Regions from separate parts of the Homo sapiens genome. Here regions 1, 2, 3, 4, 5 and 6 are each linked to region 7. The links are contacts of gene promoters, found by promoter capture Hi-C in blood cells and fetal thymus (Javierre and others, 2016). All regions are on one chromosome and are shown on one strand. The core of a region is centred on a gene start or on the middle of the fragment in contact, and the rest is flanking DNA. Distances in the headings are between cores, read along the strand shown.

The links. The method cuts DNA at HindIII sites, captures the fragments that hold promoters and counts their contacts. A CHiCAGO score of 5 or more calls a contact.
Region 1: a fragment that was not itself captured here is called in contact with the fragment with the promoter of FLRT2 in region 7 in 1 of 17 cell types (endothelial precursors); the score reaches 6.5 in endothelial precursors.
Region 2: a fragment that was not itself captured here is called in contact with the fragment with the promoter of FLRT2 in region 7 in 1 of 17 cell types (M0 macrophages); the score reaches 9.7 in M0 macrophages.
Region 3: a fragment that was not itself captured here is called in contact with the fragment with the promoter of FLRT2 in region 7 in 1 of 17 cell types (endothelial precursors); the score reaches 5.4 in endothelial precursors.
Region 4: a fragment that was not itself captured here is called in contact with the fragment with the promoter of FLRT2 in region 7 in 1 of 17 cell types (endothelial precursors); the score reaches 32.9 in endothelial precursors.
Region 5: a fragment that was not itself captured here is called in contact with the fragment with the promoter of FLRT2 in region 7 in 1 of 17 cell types (endothelial precursors); the score reaches 5.4 in endothelial precursors.
Region 6: a fragment that was not itself captured here is called in contact with the fragment with the promoter of FLRT2 in region 7 in 1 of 17 cell types (endothelial precursors); the score reaches 6.8 in endothelial precursors.

Annotation. Positions count from the first base shown.
Region 1 is chr14:84,478,507-84,481,704 of GRCh38, forward strand. No RefSeq gene overlaps it. Among named protein-coding and RNA genes, the nearest start is that of LINC02305, 560 kb to the left of the region's middle. The HindIII fragment of the contact is 3,990 bases long and covers 1-3,198 here.
Region 2 is chr14:83,989,626-83,992,943 of GRCh38, forward strand. No RefSeq gene overlaps it. Among named protein-coding and RNA genes, the nearest start is that of LINC02305, 76 kb to the left of the region's middle. The HindIII fragment of the contact is 227 bases long and covers 1,486-1,712 here.
Region 3 is chr14:84,440,346-84,443,758 of GRCh38, forward strand. No RefSeq gene overlaps it. Among named protein-coding and RNA genes, the nearest start is that of LINC02305, 530 kb to the left of the region's middle. RefSeq lists an enhancer at 2,052-2,623. The HindIII fragment of the contact is 1,046 bases long and covers 1,441-2,486 here.
Region 4 is chr14:84,005,837-84,009,053 of GRCh38, forward strand. No RefSeq gene overlaps it. Among named protein-coding and RNA genes, the nearest start is that of LINC02305, 92 kb to the left of the region's middle. The HindIII fragment of the contact is 478 bases long and covers 1,292-1,769 here.
Region 5 is chr14:84,272,475-84,275,682 of GRCh38, forward strand. All of the region lies in intron 1 of LOC105370603 (a long non-coding RNA gene), which reads right to left. Among named protein-coding and RNA genes, the nearest start is that of LINC02305, 360 kb to the left of the region's middle. The HindIII fragment of the contact is 2,420 bases long and covers 130-2,549 here.
Region 6 is chr14:84,124,226-84,127,622 of GRCh38, forward strand. No RefSeq gene overlaps it. Among named protein-coding and RNA genes, the nearest start is that of LINC02305, 210 kb to the left of the region's middle. The HindIII fragment of the contact is 171 bases long and covers 1,186-1,356 here.
Region 7 is chr14:85,528,389-85,531,873 of GRCh38, forward strand. FLRT2 (fibronectin leucine rich transmembrane protein 2) reads left to right here and starts at 1,756. Exons shown (of 2, transcript NM_013231.6): 1 at 1,756-2,146. FLRT2-AS1 (FLRT2 antisense RNA 1) reads right to left here and starts at 3,271. Exons shown (of 2, transcript NR_184170.1): 1 at 229-3,271. The HindIII fragment of the contact is 5,870 bases long and covers 754-3,485 here.

The sequences.
Region 1 (3,198 bases), core at 532-3,031, 1.0 Mb before region 7:
GCTCCCATTTTCAAATAATTGAAATCTCACTACAAAAACAAAATTTCTATCTAGGGAACAATTGCAGAAAAATAAAAGTAAATAATCAAGAGGTAAACTGTGTGGGACATTTAATGCACATTATAAGGAAACCTTTTTATCATATCATAGTTAAACTGCTAAAAAGTGAAGACAAATAAAGAAAATAAAACCTTGAAAACAACCAGAGGAAAAAATACATTACCTATGGGAGAGCAATGATTTGAATGCCACAAATTTCTGATTAGAAATCATGAGTCAGAAGGAAATTGCATGACATTTATAAAATACTGAAATAAAATTTAAATATCGTCAACACAGAATTCACTATTCTGCAAAAATATCTTTCAGACATAAAGGTGAATTAAATATTCTCTCAGTAAAGGAAATCAAACCTGCTCTAAAATAATTGCTGATGGAAGTTATTCAAACAGAAGCATAGTGATTCCAGAATAATATTTGAAACCTGAGAAATGAAGGCAGAACAGTAGAAATGGTAATTATCTAGGTAAATCTAGCAGACTATTTTTCTTCTCTTGAGTTCCTTAAGATATATTTGACAGTTGAAGAAAGCGAAAGTTAAAATATTTCCTCTTGGAGTTTTTAAATGTACAGAGATATAATATGTAACATAAAGGGGAGGGGTTAAAAGGACCCAAATTGTAGTAAGGTTTTACGTTCCCACTAGAAATGGTAAAATATTGAGTCTAAGTAGAATGTGAAAAGTTAAAAATTTATATATTATGGTCCCTAGAGCAGCCATGAAAATAACTATTAAAAATGATGCAGTAAAAAATGCACTAGAAAATCTAAATGGAAGACAAAAAACGTTTACGTAACTCCCCAAAGGCATGAGAATGAACAATTAGAGTACAAGTGGAAAACAAATAATAAAGTGGTAGACTTCAATTTAAACATAGCAAAAATCACATTAAATATCTAAACATACTAACTAAAAGACAGAGTATTAGAATGGATGAAAATGCCTCCATTATATGCTGTATACAAGAAACTCATCTCTAATGTAATTACGTAATTAGAATAAAGATGAAAGTATAGAAAATGATACACCATGCAAACCTGAATGAAAGCTCACACCCCTGTATTAATATGAGACAAAGTAGAATTCAGAGGAAGGAGTATTAGTAGTATCAGAGGGATTCTTGCCTAATGATAAAAGACTCATTTCACAAAAAGACATGGCAATTAATATATAATAAACATATATGTACCTAGCAACAGAGATTCCAAATACACGAAGTAGATCTGATGAAACGACTTCACAAAACTATTTGTTTCTCATCAGGTTAAATAAGTATTCACTTCATCATCTAGCAATCTCACTCCTGATTATTTACCCTAGAGAAATAAAACTTATGTTCCCATGGAAATCTGTATAGGAATGTTTATATCAACACCATTCGTAGTCACCAAAAACTGGAAACAGCGCAAATGTTCTCCACTAAGTGAATGGATAAAGAAACTGTGGTATATCCGTTAAGTGAAATATCACTCAACAATAAAGGGAATGAACTGCTGATACCCCAAATAACTTGGATGAATCTTGAATGTATTGTGCTCAAATGGCTGCATACTGTAACACTCCTCTTATATGTCATTCTTGAAAAGGTCAAAATATAGTAGTGAAGGACTCACCATTGATTCATGAATTTTAGGCCAGGAGAAAGCATGACTCTAAAGCAAGAGTGTAAGGCAAGTATGGGAAAGTGATGAACTGCTTTAAATACTAATTGTGATGGTCGTTACATGAATCTATACATTTACTAAATCTCACAAAACTTTTCACCAAAAAAATTAGTCTATTTCACTGTATGATACACTATAAATAAAATAAAATGCTGGCCAGGCGAGGTGGCTCATGTCTGTAATCCTAGCACTTTGGGAGGCCAAGGCGGGTGGATTGCCTGAGCTCAGGAGTTTGAGACCAGCCTGGGCAACATGGTGAAACCCCGTGTCTACTAAAATACAAAAGAAATTAGCCTGTAGTCCCAGCTACTCTGGAGGCTGAGGCAGGAGAAATGCTTGAACCCGGGAGGTGGAGGTTGCAGTGAGCTGAGATCGCGCCACTGCACTCCAGCCTGGGTGACAGAGCGAGACTCCGTCTCTAAAAAAAATATATAAAATAAAATAAATAAAATAGTACAGCATTAATATTTTTCAAACTGTTCTTAGGCCCATGGATTATCCTACCCCCACCCCACATGCATTACATGCCCAGTATTTCCAGGATGTGTTATCTCCATTTCTTATCTACTGATATGGGAACTAGGCATTTTCTCTGCCTAGATTCTTTTACTCTCCACTGATCTCTTTTCTCCACCTGACAAATATTGAAGTCAGAATAGGAGTTATCTTTTGGGAGAAAGGGAACATTTATATATGGGAACTCTTGAGGCTTCTGGAGTGCTGATAATGTTTGTTATCCTCATCATGGTAGTATTTAACACAGTTGGGTACATTTTCTATAAATTCATCAAGTAATCTGTGCTGTTTTCTGTATGCATAAAAAAGGCATCAAGTGAAACTTTTAAAATAGCTCTTATGCAGATTGTGAAGCCACCTAAAATGTTAAAACCCTTTAAGCCTTCCTCAACTCCCTGAAGAGTTTTGTAACTCTGATTTTAGCACACTCCTAGCAGTGGGATTGTGTCTCAGTTCTAAAACTTGTCATATATTAGGATATTTATACATGTGTACACACACGTGTGTGTGTGTGTGTGTGTCCCTCTTATGAGCTTAACTATAAGGAGAGGATTTGATCTTTCAGTTGCTGGTGCTGTCCTACCATAAGGCTGGCACCAGTAAATGTGCACTAAATAAATATTGGAAAAGAAAAGTATGTAGGACTTCCATGTTTAGTACTGCCCTACCTAGGCAATGGTTTGTTCCTCCTGGCATCTCACCCCTGGTCATCCTTTCTTACTTTAAAAATATTGGATCCTTCATTTTCCCTTTGTTTTTCTATTTGACTGCCAGTTACACTGATTTTTTTATTAATATCATGAAACTAGCCCTAGTCATATGAGATATGCACAGAAATTCATCCTGGCAGAGGTAACCCATAAGATTCTTGACATGAGAGCTCTGGTGGAGCAAACATAATGTTTCAGTATATCACAATTTTATAGGCCAGGTCACTAGAATATCATTAAGTTGTTT
Region 2 (3,318 bases), core at 349-2,848, 1.5 Mb before region 7:
AACACAGCTCTATTGCTTATTTTTCTTTGATTATATGCATTAAATAATATTAGATAGAATAATTGTTATATTCAAAAGACATATTAATATAAACCAATGACTTTAACAAACTATTTCAAGGAGAAATTTGTCTCCTCCACATGTATTTTTCTACACTGTTCTTCACTTGAGGATTATAGAGAGCACATTTTCAGCAAGAATCTCAGCACATCTTCTTCCTACAAATAACAATTACGATTTATGCCAGCTTATCCCTGTTGTCTTTGTTGCTTCCCAAAGGAATTCAACAAAAGCAGAAAAGATTAATGAGGGAAGTTGAAACTCGTATTATATCACATAGACTCAGAAACTTGCCAAGTTTAAAGTCAAATTAGGAACTGACATTAAACTTTGAAAAGTTGGTTGTAAAGAATAGGATAGCAACTAAAATTTACAGCAGAATAAAATGTTAGAGTCCCTAATAAATGTCCAAGGAGAACATATACTCTAAGAGAATAGACTCATTCCAAGGTTATCTTAGATTTCACAGAAACATTTCTATTAAGTTTCTATGAAAGAGAAAGATATTTTAATAATTCACATAAAAATTATATTTCTCCTGCATCACTGTAAAATTGCTTATAATTTATTATCCAGTACAATATTATAATTATAAGATTCTATGAGTTACTTATTTATTTATTTTTTCTGAGACAGGATCTCACTCTGTCACCCAGGCTGGAGTGCAGTGGCATGATCTTAACTCACTGCAGCCTCTACTTCCAGGGCTCAAGTGATACTCCCACCTCAACCTCCCAAGTAGCTGGGACCACAGGTGCATGCCACCATGCCCAGCTAATTTTTTTTTGTATTGTTTTGTAGAGACGGGGTCTTACCATGTTGTCCAGGCTGGTTTTGAACTCCTGCCTTCAAGCAACCCTCCTGCCTTGGCCTCCCAAAGTGCTGAGATTACAGGCGTGAGCCTCTGCACCCAGCTTGGGAATTATTATAGTAAAAATAGAATTGTAAAATACATAAAAACAACAAATAACATACTTTATCTAAAACAGAAGAACCATACATAAGAAGAGGTGTATATTTTCTCACTAGTTCACATACTGTCATCTCCTATGATCTAATCACCCAATTCCAGAATACTAGAGCCAGGCCTACCTTGCCTACTTAACGATAACCATGAAACAGTTAAATGGTAAAAACACAAGTTAGATATAGCAAGAGAACATGTGTCATAGCATTGTGCAGAGAGTTGCTATTTCAACAATAGTAGTAATTTCAATAAAGTAAAATAAGAAAGCTATATTCAAATTGTCAGAATTCAGAAAGTTGCTCCATGTGCCCCTGTCACCCTGAATTCTAGACCAATTTAACCCCTCCTATAATCAAAGTGATGGTGGATCATAGACACAATAACACAAATTTAAAAATGTGTCCAATTCCCATAATAAAGTAGCTGCCGCTGGTGTTTTGTGGAGCCTACAGCAAGGAAGCTTCCCATAGCTTTGCATTATGTAGATCTAACTAAGTAGCAATTGTAGTAACAAGAATTGTAGAAATTGATTTGATGAGAACTGTGTTAGTTCATTTGCATCACTGTAAAGAGATACCTGAGACTGGATAATTTATAAAGAGAAGAGGTTTATTTTGGCTCGTGGTTCTGAAGGCTGTACAAGCATGGCCCCAGCATCTACTTGGCTTCTAATGAGGTCTCAGGAAGCTTAAAATCATGGCAGAAGGTGAGGCAGGAGTCCATGTATCATACAGCGATAGAGAGAGCAAGAGGAAGAGGAAGAAGAACTAGACTCCTTTAAACACTAGCCACTGTATGAACTCAGAGCAAGAATTCACTTACTACCATGAGGAGGGCACCAAGCCATTCATGGGGGATCCACTCTAACAACTCAGATACCCCCCAGCAGTCCCCATCTCCAACATGGGGGATTACATTTCAACATGAAATTTGGAGGGGACACATATCCAAACCATATCAGAGAACTAAGGAATATTTGATGTTAGAACTGTAAGCAAAAAAATGATAGAGAAATTAAGAATCTACAGCAAAGGATAATAAATCCCTGACTCAAAGATCTGGCCTTTCAGCACAGACAGGCAGAGACAGACTTTAGCACCTCAGTGAAGCAATGAGCATTGAAGAGAAGAAAGAGCAGCAAGCTGGAGACATTTCAGCTGTACCTTGCTAGTGATAAAGAGATGGACGTTAAAAACTATATCACACTTATTAGTAAGCATGCATGTAGAAGATTGCTATGTGGCAGGCACTAATCCAAACCCACTAAAAATGTTAAGTATAATCATCTTCATAACAACCCGTGAGATAGGAACTACTATTATCCATGTTTTGCAGATGAGAAAACTGAAGCACAGAGTGGTCAAACATCTTGTCCAAGGACATAAAGCCACTACACAATCTCGTTAGGATTGGAAGCCAGGCACTGTGTCTTCAGAATCTGTGCAGTGCTGTCAACCACAATTTTAAGTGCTTGAAGAATGCTAAATGGAACTCTGCCTCAGTTTTAGCAGAGACCTCAAAAATGAGAGAAAGCAAACAAACCAACATAAGGGCTCCCTCATCCCAAAGGGAGGCACTTTGATGAATTTGTAGAAATTCTAAATCAGTTAGGGCTCATTAAGTTATGCTGCAGTAAAAAGTGACCCAGCCTTCCAGTAGTGCATCTGCAATGGATTCCTTCTTGTTCAAGTTGTCTGGTATTTCCAGTTAGGTGGGGTTTTCTCTTCATCATCTCTACTCTGAGATCTCAACTGAAGGCAAGTCCTTTGTCTAGAACATTGCCAGTTGTCATGCCAAAGAGAAAGTGGGCCCTGGTAGGTTTTGCATCTGTATTGCATGCTCCTGCCTATATGTGACTTTTGTCAGTTCTATTTACAACTCATTGGCTAGAACTAGGTACACCTAGTTACACCTAGTTACTCCACTAATCAGTAAGAGAGCTGGGAGGGCAATTTTACCATGTGCGTGGAAAGATATGGAGGGAAGGAACTTTATGGGAGAGGTGGAGAACTAGATTTTTGTGCAAACGTCAGTAATTACTACCACTACCAAGGGAGTTTAAAAGTTCTTTTAAAATACTTGACTCGTTACCCACTCAAAGTGCCCAAGAATAATGGCCAGGGAATTTGCATTTGGTGAGAGAATATCTTTAGAAAAAGCTGTTGGAATATCTTTGGATTTTCCTTACCCCTCTCTTATGGAAAAAGAAAAGAGATGCTGACTGTCCTCACTTCAAATATATGGGACTAATTGCAAAGCTTGGTCTATGTCCTCTGGAATTTCGGGACCCA
Region 3 (3,413 bases), core at 714-3,213, 1.1 Mb before region 7:
CAGGTTGCCCATTAGGAGAAATACCTAATGTAAATGACGAGTTGATGGGTGCAGCAAACCAACACGGCACATGTATACCTATGTAACAAACCTGCACGTTGTGCACATGTACCCCAGAACTTAAAGTATAATAATAAAAAAAATTAAAAAAATACAGGTTTCAAAGGTAAGAAAGACTGTTTTAGCCAACTTATGTTCTTTACCCAACCACACACCTCTCCTTAAGACAAGAAAGAAGTCAATTATCTGCTTGTGTAGAATGAGAGCAAGGGAGAAAAGACAGAAAGAAAGAAAGAAAAAAAAAAAAACTACATCACACCTTATACCAAAAATGATCTTGTATGTGTATTTTCAGTGTTCATAATTATATCCATATTACATTTCAGAAAGAACAATTGAGAGTCACATTTAGCTATTTTTATTGTCTATTTATTTCATACATTCAGCAGCGTTATCCTCATTAATATATAGCTGTGCATTGCCTCTCAAACAGGGTCATGATATAAGTATGCAGTATTTTGTCTTTCCATTATGAGTTAGCCATTTGCAAAACTGTGGACTATGGAAAGGGCACACCCGTAGAGTCATGTCTTGCTCTTTTCAGTGCACTTTGACTCTCTTTTCCCAGACACCTGCTCTTTTTCTCTCCTCAGTAGCACCAGTGTGTCATAGTCCCTTTTGTTTAATAAAGGAAAAAATTCTGAATACATTCACACTAAAATATGATGTGAGTTAGTATTTATTTCTTTTCCACGCTTGCTTAGGAAGGCTAAGGCATAGCTGAAAGTCAGAAATGTTTACTGAGTGCTGGATTTGAGGCACAGTGGCACTTGAGAATGTCATTCTACAGTCACAGTTTTGCAGCCCTCCACAATGGGACACAACTGTGTATTTCTGAAGGCACTATCTGTTAGAGAAATGTGTTGAAAAATCAAGTTCCTGGCAAAGGAGAAAGCTGTGTCTATTAAGCAATGATTCCCAGCAAACCTTTCTCCAGGCTGATAAGTAGGTTTGGCTCTTTGAAAGCCTTCTCGTAGTCCATTAAGCAGCATGAGCATCCTCTAAGGAATAATGTTCACTGATGATCACATTGTTGATATAATTAAGGTCCCTATACATAAGGACTTTAAATACCTATTGTTGTGTTTTGTCGTTTCCTGAAATTTTTCTTTTTTGATATTTTTCTAAGCATAGGGTTCATGAAAAGGTGAATGTTAATCACAACATTTGAGAAAAGTCCCTTAGCTCATTATGTGTGATGGATATGTGAAAAATAAGCTTAAGCTATAGTCACAAATGTTTCTTGTGACTTTTTAGTTAATTATGATAACTTCCAGAAAAAGAAAAGAGAGAGTAACTTTGAATTTAGTGCTTTTTATAGGAAACCATGCACTTGCACATTTAAACATTTTGCGTTTTCCTGATTTGCATACCTATTAAAGCTTCAATTTAGCAATTTTTTTTTAGCATTTTATTATTAACAAAGCTGACAATCTGGATAAGTTCACACCTCATAGAAGTCAGCAGGGACTTTTAATGCATAAAGTATCTAAGGACTCAATTTGTGATTAATTTTTTTAAAAACTTTTTTTCAAATGTATTAAAAGGAACATACAAAACCTTTATTTTTATGTTATCTTCCTTTATTTTAAAATCCATACACAATATAAAAAGCCTAGTGCAACATCAATTTAATTTGTATAAGTTGTATGCCAAAGAAATTATGAGTCAAAAAAGATAATTTTCTTCAAAGACAGAAAAACACATGCTTAACTACAATTGCATTTTAAATACTGGAAGTTCCATTCATCTTACTCAATAGTTTATTTGCCTTTTAAAAGATTAAGATATTTAATTATGTTCATATTAACTTTGTATAGCAAACATGCATGTGATTAATGATTTTCAAAATAAAAAACTGAATTGGGGCCTTTCAACCTAATACAAACTTATTTTTAAATAAATCATTTCTTTTATTTTCTAAGGAAACTTTGTCCAATATATACAATTAAATGAATGCATATGCAATTCCGAATCAGTAATAAGTTTTGTTTTAAATAACTTTGGAGATAATTTATATATTATACTCAGCTTTCTGCAATTGATTAGATTCTACTCTAGTTTGGGAGTAATGTGATACTAAAGATGAGCTAAATATTCGTTTGTCCTGAGGCAGAAACTGGTTGAATACACAATTTTTTTTTTTTAGCTTTTCAATAACTGTTTAGGCATTGTGCAGATAGCTTAACAAGAGCTCAACTGTTTCAGCTTCTGCGGCAGCTTTGGCTACTCCAAGGGAAAAACAAATATAGTAACACAATCAAGGATAATGCATTACGCATTTCAATCTATTGTTTTAGCTTTTGTTGGCCCTCTCCTTGCCAAAGTCAACATAAAGGAACTTTAAGTCGTCAATGAAGTGCTGACAGAGAACAAATGTTGCCCCGAAGTGCCAACATATATCACTGTTTGTATATGTAAAGGCAAGCTTCTCAGTCTGTCGTTTTCATGTTGGTTTTAAGTCTGAGGCTGAACATGAACTAATACACTAGGAAATGTCAAAAAGAAGATGCTGACACTTCCACCCCAATGGCAGGCACAGAGCAGGTGCTCTCCAAATACTTACAAGTGCTGTCTTTACATTTCATGATATGTCATCGATATGCATTCTCATGTGTATAAGTATTAAATCTCATCTTTGCTTGTTATCCACAGTGCATAGAAACAGTTCTTTATGCATAAGCCACACTTCTCCTTCCCTAACATTGTTTTGCTCTTCAAAAGCCAGCATCTGATCCACTGGCCTACTTTTCCATAGCTACATTTGGAACATACCTCTCCTTGGCTCTTCAGGAAGCTTTTGGTTTTGCTCAAAACCAGCTCTGAGAGAACTGTCATCGCGATTTCCTGGGTAAGATTAATTCTAGGGCCTGCTGGTCTCTTGGCCAAGTTTATTACTAATAATAAATCACTATTCAGATACCCATTTTCTCTGTCTTACCTCTTTTTCAGTAGTCTAAGGCAATCTTCTTTAACCCTCACTGACACGATGCTCAAAATTTAATAGGTCTTGCTCCTGCCTCATCTATTCTGAGAACTCCCACTAATTTCAGTGTACATGTTCATGCCCATATAGAATTGATCGAAAGATTTTGAGGTGTTAGCCCAAGCTGGAAAATTAATGGAAGTTGAGCAGACTTTTGTGAAGGAATTAAAACAGTTGTCAACCAAGAAAAGGTAAAAGACCAGACTGCAAAGCAGTGAGGCAAGGCATTATTCAGGTTTTAGGAACTGTCATTTGGGAGACACAGATTCAGCCAAATTGTGTTCCAGAGAGAGAAAGGGGAGTAGGGATTTTATGTATGTATGTATGTATGTATGTATTTATTTTGAGATGGAGTTTCACTCTTGTC
Region 4 (3,217 bases), core at 281-2,780, 1.5 Mb before region 7:
AAGTCACTTTCAAATCAAACTTTTAAAAATATCTACATAACCAACTCTTTTCAAGTATTTATTCATTCATCCATTCCACAAATGATACTGAGAACCTGCTACATGATTAGCATGTTTCTAGGACCCTGCTCTCAGCAAATTTGCATTTCAGTGAAATGACAAACATACATATTAACAACAAATTAGGTTACATGAGATTATTAGATAGATAAATTATAGGAAACAAATAGGATGCAGTGATGGTGATGAGGGAGGATAACTTCTTCAATTTGATTGGATGAAGAAAGTCTCTCTGAGTAGACCTGAAGCTGAAATGAAATGACAAGGTGGAACCAGCCGTGGGATGACTGCAGGATGAGGAAGCAGTGAGTGCCCACGTACTTCGGTGGGAAGAGGAGTTTGAGGAACCTAAAAACAAGCAGTGTTGCTCATAAGCAAGAAAGACACAAGTTAAGATGGGTTAGCAAGATAGAAGCTGCAGGTAAGATCCTGCAGTCTTTGCAAAGGAGAATCGTTTCTACTTTTAAAATCAATATCAGGTGCTGAGGGGATTTTGAATTGAAGAGTGATATGGTCATATTACTTTAATGCTTGTCATCAATTGCTGCTTCACTAAGGGAAATAAATTATCAGGAAGACAATGTAGATATTCTTACCTTTTTTTTTTTTCTGGTACTTGAGTTTTTTCTGTCTTGTTTTCTTTCTCTTTCTCTTTCTCTTTTTAATTTTTTCCCCCTTACTTTGATTTCTAATTTATTTCTCATTTTCTTTTTCTTTTTATTCCCTTCATCAAGTGGTGCCTAATGTAAGTGTGGTCCCTCCTTACTGTATCATAAACAGGTATTATGGCAGAGATAATTTTCACTGAAGAGATTAAAGCTGTAGACCCCACTAGGGGTCACTTCTGACCTACTGATGAGTCCTTAATCCTGTAATTTTGCCTTGGGGTTTATAGCCAACCCAGGAGTCAGTTTTCCTTCTGATCCTATAATTTTCCACCTTCATGAACCCCCAAGGACCCAAGTCAAAGGCATTGTTATCCACATCCTCTCTGGACACAAGCCACTCCAGGAGCCAGGCAGGCTATCAAAACAGGCATGCCCCAGGTGCTTCTCTTTGTTCAGAGTAGATTGGCGCTCTCGAACTGGGAATTTGGCTCATTGACAAGAGTGGCATCATTCTGTAAAGTGGAATGTCACCGGAAAAACTGTGATTGCACAAGGAAAGCCTGGGCTGTCTGTCTGCCTCTTACTAGCAGGCTGCCTAAGGGTCCAGCATCCAGGCTTCCTGAAGCTTCCTTCAATTGTCTTCACACACACAGAGTTCAGTACCCACTTAAAGACACACAAATTTGCCCTCAGCCCCCTGCTGAAAGTGAATCTTCCTGTGATTGATTTCCAACTTGGTTGCTTCTGAAATGACACTTTAATTAATTGAAGAATGTTAGAGGCATCAAGTCTAAGTGGGTCCCTTCGGTACTCTTCCTCATGTACATTTATGTGCATATATTAAAAAATGCCCATACCCACTGTCTATATGCGCACATATATTTTGTCATCATGTCTAAAGTGAAAAGGTGAATCTGACCTTTATAGTCATTTCACTACACAAGTTGTCTGCAAGGTCCTTGGAAAGATCAAGAAAGTAGCAATTTTGCTTATACTAGATGAATTATTGAGTTGAACTTGATAATCTGTAAGATTTTTTTTTCTTTCTCTTGTACTTGAACCAAAATTGCTTTTCTAAAATTGAATGCATACCTTGTGGAAAGCTTTGATCACATTATACTTGTTTTAATTGCCTGGTACAAATGAATATGTGCATCTAATTTAATGTTATCTTCTTTCATTTTACATTGTTTTGTGGTCTAACAGGCCCTTTCACCATTTGTCTCCCTACAGTTCAGATTTACTGTTTATCTCATCTTATCAATGAGAATTCTGAGTCTCACTATGGTTAGAAACTTTCCCCAAAGTTACGTGTCTAGCACATGGCAGATCAAGGACTAAGTCTAAGATCTCCTGAATTTAATTCCAATTTAGTGCCTTATGTAACAGAATCTTCAAGCTGTGTCTGTAAAGGGCCAGGTAGTAAATATTTTTAGGCTCTTCTAGTCGTGTGTTCTCTATCACAACTGCTCAACTTTGCTACTGGAGCATAAAAACAGTAACAGTCAATATTTACATGAGCAAGCATTGCTGTGTTCTAAGAAAACTCTATTTTTGGACACTGAACTCTTAATGTTTTATAATTTTCATGTATCATGAAATACTAATCTTTCATTTTTCAACCACTTAATGGGGAAAAACATTCTTCAATCACTTGCCTTAACAAAATAGGTGGCAACTGGGATTTGGCCTATGGGCTGTAGTTTGTCAAACTATCTGTGAATGGAATTATGATCCAGACAGCTGAGACGAGTTCATTTTAGACCCTTGTGGAATGGGCAATTTAAGGTCTCTGGAACAATTCTCATCATTATAAATCATCAGCTGAGTCTTAAGAATCTGTCATCAGGGATTAATTTCTGTTACGATTTCTCTTAAAGGAGAATAAAGTGAAAATATTAATTGAGTAGAAGCAACTTAATGAGAACAGCTGAATTATATTTTTAAAAATATATAATGAAGAACATGACTTGCTTTCCTACTGAAAAAAATATTATTTATAGATTCTAGGAGTTTCTGAAGAACTCTCAGAAAAAGTCAAAGAAAAATATCAAAATCTATCATATCCCAGTTCAGTTTAATTATAATAATATATGGATCTTATGGGCACAGATAAGAATACTACTCAGGCTCTCCAAAAAAGTAAACCTTTCTTTGTTCTGATTATTTAACTAAAAACAATTTGCTTATATTTAATTAGGGTAATATAATATACAATTGCAAAAGTACAGATTTTCAAACTGTTGGAGAGAAATGAAAAATATTAACAGTTAATTCTATAAAATAAATGTTCAAGTCATATCTGTTAACAACTACATAAAATATTACAAACCAGACAAATACTTCCTAGATTAGCAGTTGGCTCATGCTGAAAGAGAAAGTTCTCGTCCCCAAATCTGGTCCCAAAATGATGAGTAACTATAGGGTTTAAGTATTAATAAAATTAGACTGAAAACCAAGAAAATGGAAAATAGGTCATTGCCATTTTATCTCAGTCATTGTTGAAATAACAAGTTTAAAACTCAGTTTCTATATTCAGGTTTATATTT
Region 5 (3,208 bases), core at 90-2,589, 1.3 Mb before region 7:
TCCAAAGCCCAAATTTCTCAATGCTGCCTTTCTGCTGAAGTATCTTCCTATAATATTAACCATGAGTAGTGTGGGTGTTTGTTAATTTTGGAATCTGAAGGAGTGTGTTTCTGACCAGCCTTCACCATAAGCTTGTTGTGTGACCCTTGATAACCTGTACTGATCTCTTTGGATGGACTAACAGAAATTATTCAGTTTCCCAATTTACCTCACAAGGACATTGAGCAACTCAAAGTTATTCCGTCGAATACTTGTTATTTGCTGTACATTTAGCTAGCTCCAGGGGAACGGGGGGTATAAAGTAAAGACAGTGCCCTGGAAAACTTCACTAATTTCAAGATCAAAAAGAAAAACATTTTGCAAGTATGAAATATAAACCTCTCAAAGCCAAGTTTCTCATATGTTTTCTTTATACACTGAATAGTGCTTGGAATGTGGGAAGTTCTTGATAAGCCTGAGCTTTTGATATAAATTATCTCAAATAATTTCCACTTAGCCTTGACATCACTATATTATTCACATTTCACACATGAAAAAAAATTAAGCAGAGAGAGGCAAAATTGGCAGAACTGGGATTAAAACAGGTTATCTGCATAATGTTTCTAATAAAGTATATTGTTAAGATATTGCAGACACTATATCTATGTAGCAAAACTCTGAGCGAGCTCTATAATTAGTGAAAGCGTTAATGGAGGAACAATGGATAACTAAGTAATTAATGAATCTGGTAAAAATATAAATGTGATAAAAAGGAGTCCATGTAACCTCACTCAAGTTTTAACCACAAATATTTAAGGCATTATTCTTTGCCTCAGTTTTGATTTCCTTTTAGCTTCACATTCAGTATGAAGCTAAAATTTACTTGTTTCCTCTCCCAAGTTCAAGGCTAGTTCCCAGTGAAAAGTAATCCTGCATTAAGCCTCATGAAACATCCTGACGGTGGAAGATAATTTCCTCCTTTGGGAATTCCCAAGGTTTCCTGGGTCGGCCATATCACAGCTGTTTCCTGCTCACTCAGCTCTCCCTCTTCAGTTCATGGTTCTTTGTGATTTTTCCCGACTTCTGATCTTTTAATTTGAAAAGTATAACTGTCATGAAGGAGAAACTACCCTTCCCAGATTCTGATTTACAATCTCCCTATATCAAACAAGGGCATGCACGTTTTGCTGTGGACCACATACCTTAATCTTGCCCTCAGCATACTTATCTCTGTCCTTTCTTTAATGTCATTGAAACCTCTTAATTTGTCTTGTCTTAGCATTCCTGGTCATATAGCCATTTATTATCCTACACTGGGTTCATAATTTGTGAATTTTCTTCTTTTTCAGGACTGTAATCCCAGCACTTTGGGAGGCCAAGGCGGGCGGATCACGAGGTCAGGAGACAGAAACCATCCTGGCTAACACGGTGAAACCCCATCTCTACTAAAAATACAAAAAATTAGCCGGGCGTGGTCCTGTAATCCCAGGTACTGAGGAGGCTGAGGCAGGAGAATGGCATGAACCCGGGAGGCGGAGCTTACAGTGAGCCAAGATCGCGCCACTGCACTCCAGCCTGGGCGGCAGAGTGAGACTCCATCTCATAAAACAAAAAAAAAAAAAAACGAACAAAAAAAAAAAAGAAAAGAAAAAGAAAAAAAGAAAATGAGAATAGATGAGTCTTTGAAGTGTTAGTAGCAAGAGGGACTATCATCATAGTTACTAGGGCAATCAAAACTAAAACTATGCTTATAAGCTACTTAATTCTCCTGTAGACGGATGATTTCTACTGAACTGCTTTGAGATACTGAAGTACAAGACAGGATTTGCAAAAAAAACAACTCTCTCTTGTTGGCTTTCTCTATTTTGCAAAGATCTCATAATAGAACGATGGATTTTCAGGTAAATACTGTATTTAGTATTCCCTACTATGCATTAAATTTACTTGAATTTCATACCCAGAGTAGCTCATCCCTGTAGGCTCATAACCTGTTGTTTAATAGAAGAAATAATATAACTGCAAATCATCTGCCCTAACTGTTTCAATGAAGAAGCAATCATTTCTATGCTTCTTTAACAAGTATTCAAAGTGTAATCACAACAAGGCTACTTATTCAGAAACTGAAGAAGATGCTTATGTCCCTAAAGATGCTGACAATACGTTAAGACAAAAGAAGACATTCTGGAAGCACTGTCATCCTCCTTTTAGTTTTATACTACACCATTACCATGACAACCTTTCTGTCCACTCCAGTTTGAAGGTAGAAACTAATGTCAAGGGAAATTGTAGTACCACATTTGATTCAGAAATATGGAGAATTTATGCTAGCACAAAAACATGGATTTAGTTCCCTCTTTTGAGAATGAGAACAGCTTGGAAGGAATCCAGTATGGAACTTGGGCTTCTATTAAATGCCATGACCTTCAAACTTTCTCAATAGAGATGGTAGTTAGTAACTGCCTCAGAACATTTGCTGCAAACCTAGATGACTTTGAAATTTACAAATGATGAAGTAAACAAATAACAACAATAATGAAAGCTATAGAATTCAAATCTTTAAAAGCATTTTAAGCTTTGAATTAATGGTGTGTTGTATTCTGTTGTAATAACATATTTAGTATTTGATTGTGTAATCAGAATATTGAGATTATGGCAATAGTATAAATTATTCATTTTAAAGCTTTGGTATATATATTAAAATAATTAATATAGACAAGTATTACTGGGTTTTTAGAAAAATAAAACATATTGAGAGGTTTATCTAGATGTTGTAATTAAAGAAGTTATTTTCTCTTTGAATTCACTGATTGAATTCCCTTCCAGATACTACAAAGCATATTTCTGTTAATTCTCTATCCAAATAATTTTGTTACATTTCTCCCTTATGAACATGTACACCACCACCATCCAGACAGAATGTTTATATTTAATACAATGTTCTATGAATTTAAAATTATACATACATTTTTTGACTTTTGTTACTGCTGTATCAAAGCTTTATCAAATGCTTAAGTCAACTTTCAATCAATCATTACACATTCCTTTTAGTATTAGGAAGATTATCCTCTTGTTTCTTGTATTCTTTTTATTTTGTAAGTGTAAGTTCTTAATGATTCTATAAGATGCAAAATTTATCAAAATATGAAAGTCCAGTTCTGTGATCAGCCAATTTAATGGTATTAGGAAACTATTGTTTTTCTTTTCTGTATATGCATGCATACACTAACAC
Region 6 (3,397 bases), core at 21-2,520, 1.4 Mb before region 7:
CTCATGACTCTCCTTACCATGAGACATGTTCCAAAGTGTCTGCAGCCCTGATGCTACATCTGAGATTCACAGTCATTTATTTCAAGCTATTCGACATCTACACTTGTCTGTCTTGTGGATATCTTAAAATTAACATGTCAGAATTGACATTATACACATACACACACCAAACACTTGAAACAATCATTAAAATAATTATCTGGCCCTCTCAAATTCTCCTATGTCACATTAAATGACATTTACTAGGTTATCAAATACAAAAAAATAAAGTGAAGTTATGTAAGATGCTGGTTTTTTCAAGCTCTTTTTCTATCTTCAAAATAAATCTCAAATCTCTCCAACTCCATTCATCACTGCAACCACTCTACAATAGCACCACCATAACAAGGCTAGGCTGACCTTCCTATTTTCACTTTTAGTATCTGAAATCGTATTTTTCAAATATATATTTCTGGAGATAGCCAGACCTAATAATAATCTGGCCCCCAGTGTTCTTATCTGTTTCCTCCAAAATACATGCTCATGAGACTACAAATTCTGTTTCTGAAAAAAAAGTAATTGTAACTAACACACTCAGTAGCCATCTAATAAAAAAATAAAATAAGAGCATTTACTGTGCATGTGTACACACATAACCTTCTTTAATCCAGATAAATAACCTCAATGTGCTACACATTTTAGTTTTTTTTTTATATTGAAAGTAAATGAATAAGCTCAAGTTTGTCAATTACCTGCTTGAGCACACATAACTTCTGTCTCTTACATACACGATGTACTTATAAAACTCAAAAAGGATTCTAACAAACTGCATGTCATAAGTATAGTAATCGTAGTTGAAACAAAACACACTTATACATATCTAGAAAATGATTGAAGACTGCTTCAGAAATAGTTTTAAAATTCAGACAATAGTGTAAAAACAATTAACACACACCCCCCAACTCAAAATTAAAATATACTCAGGCTGAATCCAAATCATAATTATATAGCCCTTAACTCTCTTTCTTTATCCTTATCATTTTTTGGTAAATGCTCATCCCTTGAACACATCTTTACAATGCTTTTTCTCTATTCCTTTTGTGCCTTGAATGTTTCTCCTCCTAAAATCTGTTTATCTCAATCTGCCCTAGCCTGAAATCCAGACCACCTACCCCAAAACATATAAAATTGGTGTGCGGGCCCCCAAGCTTGTATGTGTGTCTGAATGCATCTCAGTGTGTGTGAATTTGTGTTAATTAACTGCAGAGTCAAACTGCTATGTTTTTTCAGCCAGGCTACCTTCCCAGAGGGATTGTTTTTGTTATACCAGTTGAAAAATACGTAAATGACAGAAAGGATCTATATATGACGAATAGAAGCTTTTCATTTATAATTATTCTTATGAATAGAGTTTTAAATGAATTCTATATAACCTTTCTAAATGTCTAGAATATTGGTTATGGGGTACAATCATTTCTACTTAGACACAGTCATTGATTTTTCAAGTATTCTGTTATGCTAATGTGGTATGCTCCTTGTTCTCTCAAGTTATTCTAAGAATCACTTGAAACAGTGATGAGCAAAATCAGGCTTCTATCAAGTACTCTGCATAGGAATTTAGAGAAAGACAGAGAAGGTAAAGGGTTCACGATTTTATGATAAAAGAAGCTATACTCTCCATCAAAATTTGAGAGAAATTTATTCCTGAAAGCAAATGATAATGAGATCTCGCGCTGAAAATCTGTAAGTTTAAAAGGCAATTAGCTTGTCTATCTTATTCACCTACGGGGGCAAAAACAATTCAGTTCTCACTGTTAAAATGGATTGCAGTCCTCACTGTTAAAATGGATTGCAGTCATATTGGATTTGAAAACCTGACTTTTTAAATATTTATGAATATCCGAACCCTGCATAAGAGTAGGAAAGAGGGCACATATAATTTAGAAAACTTTCATTCAGCTGAATGACTTCATGTAGATTTTTTATTTTATTGAAACGCAGATTGAAATATAAAGTTTACTATCTCTGTTACAAAAAATCAAAATAAAAACATTTAAAATGAAAAAGTTATAGGGTACCATTTTTTTGGAAAATAGACTGTCAGAGTAATTTCTTAAGATTTGTTCTTTTATTAGAACATTCTAAATTAGAAATGCTTTTAGAGAAAAGAGTTTTAGATTATGCATTCTTAGAACCATCCTGACTGAAACACAGATGAGGGTGTTGACACACAGATCAAAGACAATGTTTTATTGTGAGAGTAAAAAGTCAACCACTAGGGAATATAATTTGTTTAATGTTAATGAAAGTATCTGTACTTAGATAAGCAGGTTGGTTGACTATATGCTTGTATACCTTAAAAACAATTTCAGCCTGGGCATACTGGTATAAAACCTGGCTATTCATAGGCAAATAATACAAATCAATTATATTTGTCCTACAATGCCCAATCTCATACTTTAAGTACATAAAATAATTATTATGTTTCGGGAATAATGTTTCGATAGTTTATTGAAAATCATGTTGATAATTTAAGTAGGTTTCTAGACCAGAAGTTGGCAACCTTTTTCATTAAAGGGCCAGACAATAAATACTTTTGGCTTTGAAGGCCATAGAGGCTGTTGCAACTATTCATCTCTGTCACTGTAGTGAAAAACATTGACAATACACAAACAATGAGCACCTGAGTTCTAATAAAACTTTATTTACAAAAACAGGTACAGGTAGTGGGCTAATCCTACTCTAGGCTACCACTAGTTATTTTTAAATGCTTTCAGAATTGCAAAGGAAGAAAAGGTCTGTAATTAACATCCTACCTAAAGCATCTCTTATTTTTTGGATATGGGAAGAAACGAAAAAACAATAAATTATAAAATACATGTGTTGAAAAGTGTTTAGCAGCCAACTGACTAATTACTACTATCCATAGCTTGTGGACTTGACTCCAGCCTCCAGGATGATTACATCATTTCAGCTTAAAACCTTGAGTGATGAAGAACTCAGTACCTAAATAGGCCTGTCTCTGTTGTCTTCAATTTTTGGACAGTTCTAATTATTAAATACTTATCATTTATGTTGTGTTCAGAAGCAACTTGCAATAGTTGAACAGTGATTCAGTGTGAACTTGCCTAACATATTGCACTTGTTTAGATATGCATAAGCTAATTTTAATTATTTAGCATCCTTAAAATTAATGGCCTGCCTTAATTTTTATCAAATAAATGTTTTTAGGCATATTTTTGGAATTATGATTTTTTTTAACTATAAAATGCTTGCTGAGCTTTTATTGAGTGTCAGATGCTGTTCTGGGCATCAGGAATAAAAACACAAGTAGGTGGAAAGATTCTCTAGGAACTCACTGTCTAAGCTAAATTTTCCAACCTCCTGCTAAGTCTTCTAATTGCTCATGTTAGCTACA
Region 7 (3,485 bases), core at 506-3,005:
AACACCAATAATTTAAAGTATGAATTCTGTAAATCTGCAACCACCCCCTCCCCCATTTTCAATCTCATTCATTTTCTAGCAGCATAAATCAGAAAGCAAAACCTTTGTTGCTTTAAAGATCCTGCTTTGCCTTTTTAAAATGTGTTCTTAAAGATGAAATAATTATGCTGCTTTCCTGGATCAAGATTTCAAAGGAAGAACCTCCTGCGGATACTTATGTACACTTACATACGAAAATGGATGTTTAAATGCAGGTAGATGAGTATTTGTCCTAAAATGTGATCTTCCTTGTTGATGCTGGAGCTTGAGGAGCTATCCCTATGCTCTGCTGCCACCTTGGAAACTCAGAAGGATTTACAACGGAGTTCTGCACAGGGGAAGCTGGAAGCAGCATTCCCACAGCCTCTTCTGGGGCTGGCAAGGCTCAGAGAGGCATTTGAAATGGCTATTATTGACACCCATAGACTTGGGTATGTTTCAGAGAGAAACTATAACATCTATCTCATGGGAAAACACACTTTCTCTGTTTTTAAATAACTCCGTTTCAGCAAGATCCATGTGTGTAGCCTCTGAATACTCTATAAAGGCTCCGTATTTCTTTCTTTCTTTCCTTAGTCCGGAATGGAGACAGAAGAAAGATTCGGTTGAAGATGTCCCTGTGTGGATCTCAGTTTGCGCTCTGAGCGACGTCCTGGCTCATTTGGGTGTGACGGTGAGAGCAGAGGCGCTCTGCTGACAGTTTTTTCTTGTCTAAGCTTCCATTCCGCATCCACAATATGACTCGCCTTCCACTCCAGTTAACTTCTTGGAAGTCCAGAGCACTTAGTCAAAGCTGTTTACAAAATGCAAAGCATCTGGGCGGCCAAGGCAGAGGCTCCTGTGTTCTCTATGTAACCGCCTCCAAAAAAGCTGGGAAATTTCGCGGATCAAAATGTAGGCGCTTAAAGCTGACCCTCTGCTGTCAATGTTGGGACTTAGATACATTTTTTGCATCGTCATTCTTGTGTGTGTTTCCCGTTTATTCCATTCTAAGGCTCAGGCTCGCGCTGTTTCTCTCGCGCGCGCTGTCCCCTCTCTCCATTTCCCATTCACACATCAAACTCCGTCCTCCGCACCCCTATCTTCCCGTGTCTTCTTAGTTATGTGAATGTGTGTCATTAGGCTTACTCGGACACTGGATGGGTGAGTGGGAGGCAGCTTTTCTTGCGGTTTCATTTACACTTGGCATGGGTGGGTGGGTGCCCTCCACAATTCGTCTCGCACACGGAACACAGTTAAAATCTGTAGCTAGAACGAGTGAAAAGTTCCGAATCTTTAAAGCGCAGCTAGGACAGGAAATAATACAGGGTTGGGGGATGTGGACGGGGGCGGAGAGCAGAGAAGTAAAGGAATAAAACCAACTTCGCTGGCAACTTCAATAAATCCGGTAACTGGAGGCAAAAAATAGACTCCGAGGGCTGGGTCTGGTCCGGATGAAACGCTAGGGCTCCTTCCCTTCCTTGAATCTTGGGCGCTGGAAGCCAGCCACGGGCGTCTTGCCACGCGAGTGCCCCTAGACAGCAACACACCCACTGGAAACGCACGTGAACAAAGCTCTCGCCCCCGGGAGCCGCTGCCTGCGGTTTCCTAGTCGATCCCAGCTTCTCTAGGGAGTGTCAGGCGCACACAGGGTTAAGTTAGTTCCCTCCCTGGTAGGAGGGAGAGGAGGAGGAGGGGAAAAGCAGCATACTGTCTCAGGCTGGGTACCTTGTAGTTAGTTGTACGTTCGAAACCTGTCGCCGTCACTTGCGCGTTTGGCATTATCCATTGTCACCGCGGAGGAACGAGCGCTCGAGATATCATCAGTGCCCGCAAATCTCCGCGCCAAGGCGCTGAGCTACTCCTTTCCGAGGTGCGCCTCTGGTCCTCCGTCCCTGGTGCCCAGCAGCGGCGAGGCGGCATCTCCGCTCCCGCCGCCGTGTCCACCGAGCCCTGGGATCAGGGTGGCAGTTCTCAACGATGGGCAGGAGGGACCTCGGCGGCGACCCCTAAAACAATACCATGCCCCGGGATCCCCGCTGCTGCCGCGCCAGCGTCTTCCCTTTCCACCTCCCTGACCCTGTCGGATTCGGATGAGCCCATTGCAAGGAGAAGACGCAGCCGTCAGGTAAAAGGGGCTGCGTTGCCAGGTGAAGTTTCCAGTAACCGGCCGAGCTGCTGCTACGCTGGCACCACGCTGTCTCTTCGGGGGATTTTTTTTTTTTGAAAGAGCTGGGGGTGGTCATCTTAAGTGGGGTGCTCTAGGCTTTGTCTTTCACCTGGAGAGAAAATAGGCAGCTTAGCTCTCTCTCGACTTTGGGGACATCTGTCTGCTGGTCGAATCCACCTCCTCTACGGAGCATCATGACTGAGTTCTGGGTCAAAACGCAAATTTTCTTGCCTGGTAGATGCATCGATGCTAAATTGGGGTTCTCAGTGCCCCTAACCTTGTCAGAGTTCAGTCTCCTACTTCCCTAGATTGAATCTCTTAACTTTCACCAGTAACAACCCTCTCCCCTCCACAAGCTGTTGTTAATGTCACCAGCGTTATTATCAGGCTGTTGTATCTAAAGACACCAACCTACTACCTGCCCGTAATCTGGGATCTATTAGCAGTTAAACAGATGCGGTGGATACTAATTCCTTTTCCTTCCAGTTGGTGGGGGCGGGTGGGGCTTTTTCCAAAACCAAGTCCCTTCCAGCCCTGCTTGTCCTCTTCGGGCTGGCGGGCACTGAGCTGGGGCCATCACGCCTTTCTAGAGCGCCTGCGGAGGTGGCGAAGGCTTGGAGAGCATACGAGGCGGAATCCGGATCGAGTGAGTTCCTTGAGCCGCTTGCGTGGGACGCAGGGAGAGGGCGAATAACGCCCTCAGGCGCTGAATGCAGGGGCAAGGAGCCAGCGAGGGTGGCTGGAGCAGGCCTTGCCAGCTGTTACCAAGTCTCTCCACAGGCTTGGGGGCTTGGGGCCTCCTGGAAAGATCCCTCCGCCGCGCTGACCAGTACGGGGCTCGCTCCCGCACTTTGAAGGCTGCCGCGGTCTTTCGTCATTTATAATCAAGCCCAAGATCAAGGTTGCAAGCTGAGGTCGGGGTACTGACAACGGGAATGAAGCCATAGGGGAAGAGGATAACTGGGACGGGCTGGACCCATACTTGATACCCGGGAAACTCCTAGAGCGTGTGGTGCTCCTGCCAGCGGCAGTTACTGGTGGAGCTGAGGCCACCGCTACTGTCGTCGTTGGCGCTTTGCTTCTGGAACCTCCCAGCAAGATGGCACTCACTGTCTGTTCCCTTCCGATTAGCACCCCCAGCCGCGCTCCCTCCTCCCCGGGATACGTATTAGTCACATACTGTGGGGAGAAGATGGGCTATGTAAATGTAAGTCAACGCGCTTTCCCAGCCACCTTTGCATAATGCAACAGGAACAGCGACCCGCGCGCACGAACCGGGTAGTGTGCGCGTGTGTGT